Linked DNA regions of Homo sapiens: region 1 is linked to region 2. The links are contacts of gene promoters, found by promoter capture Hi-C in blood cells and fetal thymus (Javierre and others, 2016). All regions are on one chromosome and are shown on one strand. Each heading gives the region's core, a stretch centred on a gene start or on the middle of the fragment in contact. The rest is flanking DNA. Distances are from core to core; before and after follow the strand shown.

Region 1 (3,699 bases), core at 961-3,460, 360 kb before region 2:
CCATCTTAAGGAGAAAGTATGTGGTTTCTCATTATGAAGTATGATATTAGCAGGAGATACTGCAGTGCAGGTGTTGCTGTGTGCTCTCCTCTGTGTCCTCCAGCCATAGAACAGAGACAGCTTTATACCAGCTGCAGCCCTGAGTAGCCATCCCAACTCTTCTCAATGTTCTTATTTGAAGGCTTTTCTTCTAAAAACAACATTGCAGTTAATGTCTTGTACACTGAACATTGCCCAATCAGTAAGTAGATCTGTAAGGTATGGTCCTCATAACAGAATTGCTGGGTCGAAAATATACACATTTGTAATTTCAGTAGATATAGCCAAGTTGCCTTTTGCAATGTGCATTTCCACTGCAGTGCATGAAAATGACCATTTTCCACACACTTGCCAATATCATATGAGCCCATAGGCAAGTTACTAAATTATCTGTACTTTAGTTCCTTCATCTGTAAAAGGGGGTAATAATGAGATTCACCTCATGGAGTTACTGTGAGCACTAAAGATGTGTTAAGTATTTGCATCAGTGCCGGGCACATAGTACATGTTCTATAATTACTAGTAATTATTCTTACAATTGTCAAATGTTTTGATATCTGACAATGTGGGTGGTGAAAAGTAGTACATTTTGTTGTAGTAGTTTAAATTAACATTTATATTAAGTGAGATTAGGCGTTGTTTCAATTGTTTTAAAACCATTTGCACTTCTTTTTTGTGAATTGCTGGTGCAAATCCTTTTACACACACATATCGCTTCTGCTCATGTGCCATTGGCTAGAATTAGTCATGTGGTTACCCCTAGATACAAAGATGGTACTGCTTGGAAATATAGTGCATTGGGCTGCCTCTTTACAGTGACCGTTTCATACTGTGATTTGTTTCCATATTTGTGCCTACCCCCACTTTTTTGGACTAAGATAGCTGACAGTTTATTTAATTTCGCATTTTTTCAAACAATTAGTTAATAAAGTAATTTATTAATTTTATTATTTTTTGTTTTTCTATTTTAAATTTATGTTTCTGTTTTATATTAAATTTTTCTTTCAATATGTAATGTTTAGGTTTATTTTGATATTTTTCAATACTTGTGACTGGGACCTTTATTTATTTTCATTTGATCTCAATTATTAATATATTGAAGGCTAAAAGTTTCCTCTGAACACTGCTTTAGCTATGTCTCATATGTTATCATATATCTTCATATTCTACACAATTGTCAGTTCTGAAATTTTCTTTTTTAGTTCAGAATTATTTAAATGAAAAAAATTAAATTTTTTATTTTATTGTACATTTCTAGATGTATTGCATTAGTATCAGAGAATGGTATTTGATTACAGCTCTAATTGTGTCTTATTTGAATCAACTGTTCTAATATAGAGTTATTTTATAAATATTCTATGGGTACCTAAAAAGATAAAAAGTTTATTTCCAAGGATCACACACAAACATACACACACATAAAGTTTTTATCTATTTTACATGTATATATAGTATGTGTGTGTTGTATATATACGTAAAATAACTGATAAGAGGTGTGACATGAACTCACCTTAAAATCACTAAAGCAGGCTACAAACCAGAAAGGGGATTAAAAGAGGGGTCATAGAAAGAATCTTCACATGAGTACTAAACTTCCTGGAAGTTGACATATATTTATTTTCTCTGCTGTTATTGGCTAATTGTGGCTTTGGCTCTTTAGAAGCTAACCAAGCTCACTGATATCAGTATGTTTACACTGCTGTATAAATTTCAATATACTTAATAATATAGTCTTTGCTTAAGAACCTTTCTAGGTCTCTTGTTGAGAGGTATATATCCAAAATTCATTTAGGTAGAGACTTGTCTCTGTGTTCCAAATAAATGAAATGTCTATTTTAATGGCAATTATCCTGGATAGAGGCGTACATTGACTTGGTCAAGGAGTAAATGTTGAGCAAATTTTGCCATGAGCCAAAAAGTTTTATCCCAGAAATAGTCTTACCAAAGGGTCAAGACATACATTGAATTTGCTGGAACAGCAGCCTAAGCCCAACAAAGCTTTGGCTAAAGCTTATGAGTAATTCTGCTATCATTTCCTGTTTATAATCACCAGAGTAGAAAGGCGACCTCGGTGACCGAGTGAATCCATCCACGCCTAGACAGGGCCGAAAGAATCATGAGCAGCATCCAGAGACTGCATGAACTCTGCGTCTAACTGAGGGTAAAGGGAAGATGAGATTCTTGGATAATTCCCTTTCTTGATGCCCTAAATTGCATCTTATTGCAAATAAAGAAATCATAATTGGTCTGGTTTAGAAGGGAGAGGCAGCTTCAATTATGTAATTATGTCAGATCTAACAGCAAAGAGAAATTACATCAAGCGTAAGCTTCCTCCAAAGACCAGTTTAGAGTTCTCTAGTGTCATAAGAGTAGCCTCCCTTAGAGTTGCAGGTGATTAGTTAGAATAACCAAGAAAAGGGAGTGAAAATGGACTTTAAGGTCTAAAAGGAAACTTGCCTGACCAGTGGTGTGGATCCTTGGAACTGTGAGGGGCCCATAAAGTGGGATAACCCAGTCTGGATTCTTAAAATCATTTGGTGATCTGAGAGGTGGTTGTATATATGAACTGAAAAATCTTAGCAAGTAAAAACTGCAAATTTGGGACACAAATAGGACAGAAAAACCCAGAAGGGAGATGGTACATACTGTACTAATAAGGCAAGTGGGTCTTGGCTATTATTTGTAAACTTGAATGAAATATTCTTATTTTCTTCAAGAGTTTGTGGAGCAGTTCTCACCGATTAACTTATTTCCATTGATTCTCTTGGCCATTAGTTGTTAACTTTTTTAAAAGAGCCATGGACCCCTTTTCCTCCTGCATATGATTATCCAGTTTAGAATTATGTGGGAAATTATCTTCAGTATATCCATCTAAATGTAAAAGTTTGTCTATAATTTCAGGGGGCTCCAACAATGCCTGAAACTTATCCTTGGACCTCGAGTTAAGGCCATTTTCTTTAGGAGGCAAGCAAGATTAATATTATTATTTCTGCCTTACCAATGAAGAAACGGAAACCCAGAGTTGTCAAGTGACTTGTTTTAGGTAACACAGCAATGTAGTGTCAGATTTTAGACCAGAACCTAGACTTCGTGTTCCTTGTCACCACAGCATCCCTTGGAATGCAATCAGTATCCGTCTAGCAAAAACCACCAGGAGTGTACACCTTTACTGGAGCATGCTGACGTCATGTGAGAAATGCTTCTGGTGTAGATTTTTTTATGAGAGAGTTGAGGCTGGAGCAGGCTGCGTTGCATTCTGCTTAATTTCTTCATCAATAACCTTGCTGGACTTGCCAGTCCTTGCAAACACTGAGAAATTGGCTTGTCTTTGAATTTTTTATTGCATTATTATGCTCCCAATCGATATGTGAATCTCTACAGTCCTCCTGCCCTTGGAGAAGGATACATCAGAAGACATTTGTATTCTGAATTCTGCCTTGCATTTGTTTGCTGGGAGAGAGCTGGAGAGCCAGGGCTTGCTGGGAGACAGGAGAAACTTTCGTTGTGCTTGCTATCTTGCCTCTCTGTTATGTACATCCTTGTCACAGCACAACTGGCCTTTCTGTTCGAAAAGAAGTCAGAAATGTCCAGGAGCTCATTTGTGTAGGTGAGCAATTTGCCTTTGATAGTCTTTTGCCTCCTACTTAGACATCCTACCAT
Region 2 (3,630 bases), core at 1,128-3,627:
GGGGACGGAAAGGACGAGGCGACGTCCCTGCACTTGAGGCATGGGAAGCACAGGTGGAGGGTCAGCCTAGGAGAGGCAGAAGCCTTACCTGCCACTGTCTGCAGGGAAGCTCCAAAGGACAGGCATGAAGGCTGGTGAGCTTGTCGATGGGTGAGGAAGTTGCCTCCAGGTGGCTTCTATTTTGTCTATGAAGCAAGAGACCAAATTGCCTATTGACAAATGATGGTGGAGAGGGGTGTCCTCCGGATTTCCACCATTTATCTTGGCTTCTTCAATCCCTTGCTTATTCATTCTGCAAATATTTATTGATAACCTATTATGCTAGGCACTATTTTGGACTCATTGGACGTGCAGAAGTGAACATAGAACTTACATTCGGGGTTGAGGGAAAATAAATAAACACATAAACATCAAAACCAAAAACATCGGGGAAAGAGAAGGACTATGAAGAAACAGGCAGGATGAGAGAGCAGAGAGTGCGGGAGGCTGTGGAAACAAGGTGCTCAAGGAAGTCTTTTGCTCAGGAAGTCTTCCCAAAGAAGTGACATCTGAGTAGAGATCTGAAGGCAGCAGCAAAGAGCCTTGCAAATATCTGGGGTACGGGGGCATTTCAGTTAAGGAGGACAGCCAGGGTAAAGGGAAGGAGAGGGTGGAGAGGAGGTGCGACCCAGGGAGACAGATCACATAGGATGTTGGAAATCACCTTTGATCGTTAGCATGATGGTTGTTACTAAGAACCAGGGAAGTGGCGTGGCTGGATTTATATTTTGAAAGGATCATGCTGCTGCTGTGTAGAGGACAGGCTAAAAGGGACAGTCGTGGAAAAAGGAACCCCACTTAGGAGGCTGTTGCAGCCATACACAGCAGAGATGTGAGGAGCGGTGAAGGAGGCTCAAAGTCATCAGACTCAGGATGTGTTTTGTAGGGAGAGCCAACAAGATTTGCTGATTGCAAATCTGATGATCAGATGTGGAATATGAAAGAAAAAGGAGTTGATGATGGCCCAGGTGTTTGCCCTGGGCCAAATGGTGGTACCACTTACTCAAATGTGGAAGACCAAGGGTAGATTAGATTTAGGAAGAAGCAGAATTTCTGCTTTAAATATGTTAAGTCCCTGGAAAGATTCTGCAGGCAGTGTTGTTATTTGCTTTGCTTCGGCCAGCAGGTGTGGCTCTGTTTTTTTCCAGCAGCAACTGATGGTGGCCCAGCCGTAGCTGTAGACTGAATGCTGATTGGAATTGTGTCAATTGGCTTTAACAAAACAGGGGGTAAGAGAGTTGAGGGTATTAGAAAGAGACCCAGTGAAATGACAGACCAAATGTAAAACTCCAGTCCTGGAACCAATTTTAATTAGTTTGAACTGATCAGAAGTGACAGAAGCCTAACCCAAACTAATTTGAGCAAAAGAGGAGGAACCAATGGCTCAAGTAACAGAAAGCACACCCAAGTAGCTCATAGAAGAGAAGAAAGAGCTTCAAGGCATAATAAAGTGGCCACATGACCTTGAACTGGGGATGAAAGACAGCTGTGTAACCCCATGTGCCCCATGTATGGGAGTGGGATGGTAGCAGATCTAAGACAAAAGGGAGTAGCTGGGACTACAGTGAAATGGAGAGGGAATACCCAATCCAACGCATTGAAATTGCACAAACACAGAGTTTGCAGAAATAAAATGTGCCTAACACTTTGCATTCTCTGAGAGAGATCCAGGCTTTGAACGTTCTGGCAAAATCGGTGTTAAACAATCACCGCTAGAATCATGGGAAGTGAGAAGACTTTTGTACCTACCAGTCTCAAGCTGAACAGTATGAAACAGGGCAGTGAACGACCCCCTTTTTTAATATTAAATACATAACACAAGATTAGATGTCCTGGCTGCCACCTTAGTAGAGCAACAACTCTGCCTGCGTGTTGATGGCTTGATTGTCCTACACAAATAAGGAGTCTCAACAAACAGCCCAGCCAGTCATTATAAAGAATACAGCCTTCTGTAACTCTACCATTAAGTTTGGCAGACCACTAATTAGACAGGCAATTCTCAAGAACTGAACCAGCAGCCTAACTCACTCTGCACCTTGGAGTTACCCTTGAGCTCACCCCCAACAGGACCTAGTAAGTTAAGGTGACTCAAACTAGAGGTGCTTCACTCCTACATTTGTTTGCAGGAGGGGCAGACACTCCAGGCAGCTCCCAAGAAATAGGATATAACATATTACTCACCTGTCATACAGCAGCAAAGGCAGCAAGAGACAGCGCCTGCCAAATACCCCAGGCCCTTGGAGGACACAGTTCTGAGGTTTGCACAAAGCCACAGCTAAATACCTTCACCTGAAGTCCCTGATGCCCACAGCACGAGAAACCATGCAACCAATTCTCCATAGAACCTGGTGCAGGAAAGAACTTTCCTCTCCTGTGAACTTCTACCAGGCAATGGGAATTTTATAGGAATCATTGGCATGGGTGTTGGCCTGAGCGTGCCACATTTGCCACTTCTGATAGAGCCCTTTGGGTTTCAATCTATGCCAAGTCTATTGTGAAACTTCATCACAGCATGAAACATATCCTGTGTTCCTTGTACGTCATACCTCCTCACTTCTGAATGGCTCTTGCTCTTCCTTGCTCATCTGTAGTGAGTGAGTTTGGTTTTTGGAACTGTCAATCATAAATGGTATCCACATTATGCAATTATTGATGTGGAGGCAGCACACTGCAGGAGGTGCCCCCTCTGGCGCCTGTCCCTGCCTGTGTGTCCAAAGGCTCCCCCTCGGCTTCCTCCCCGGGTTGCTCCCTTCCCCACGAGGTCATGTCCTCTCCAAGCCGAGTAGCCTTGCATGGCCTCCCCGAGGTCCTTCCGAGAACCTCCATTTCCTCTGCTGTGGAACAATCCCAACCCCTCTTTCGTGGTTGCAGATGCAGAGAGGATAAGGGGATACAGGCAATGGAGCTGGTAAACAGTGACATCCTATATTAATTTGAGGTCACTGCTTATCACCAGGCAGCCAGTGGGGCCTAAGAGGGCCCCTCCTCCCTTTATCTGCTCTCAGATGTGTCATCTCTGCTGCAAGGAGGAAATTAGCTGGGCCAATATGACCATGTTTTGGAATGGGAGAATGGAGGGAGGCATTCTCAGACTCTTGAAACTTTCTTCCATGTATAACTTGATGCATTTTTACCAACGTGTATGCCCATGCAACCGCCACCCAGATCAAGATGTGGAACACTTCCGTTACCCCAGGAAGTGCCCCCATCCCACTCCTGCCCAGCCGCCACCCCCAGCCCCTCATTTCCAACACAGTAGATTAGTTTTGCAAGTTCTTGAACGTTACATAAAAGAAATCATATAGTACATAGCCTTTTGTCCGGCTTCTTTAACTCAACATAATGTTTTGAGGGTTTTTGTTGTGTTGTTGTTGTTGCTGTTGCTGTTTTGAGATGGAATCTTGCTCTGTTGCTCAGGCTGGAGTGCAGTGGCATGATCACAGCTCACTGCGGACTCAACCTTCTGGGTTCAAGCATTTCTCCCACCTCAGCCTCCCCAGTAGCTGAGACTATAGGCACGCACCACCATGCCCAGCTAATTTCTGTATTTTTTGTGGAGACGGGGTTTCGCCTTGTTGCCCAGGCTGGTCT

What was found. Contacts are between HindIII fragments. The CHiCAGO score rates a contact against its expected background, and 5 or more counts as called.
Region 1: a contact is called between a fragment that was not itself captured here and the fragment with the promoter of LINC01433 in region 2, in 1 of 17 cell types (M0 macrophages). The highest score is 5.5, in M0 macrophages.

What each region holds. Positions count from the first base shown.
Region 1 is chr20:4,554,066-4,557,764 of GRCh38, reverse strand. No RefSeq gene overlaps it. Among named protein-coding and RNA genes, the nearest start is that of PRNP, 130 kb to the left of the region's middle. The HindIII fragment of the contact is 317 bases long and covers 2,052-2,368 here.
Region 2 is chr20:4,191,837-4,195,466 of GRCh38, reverse strand. LINC01433 (long intergenic non-protein coding RNA 1433) reads right to left here and starts at 2,377. Exons shown (of 3, transcript NR_033917.1): 1 at 2,221-2,377; 2 at 89-185. RefSeq lists a silencer at 50-231. The HindIII fragment of the contact is 5,002 bases long and covers 1-3,630 here.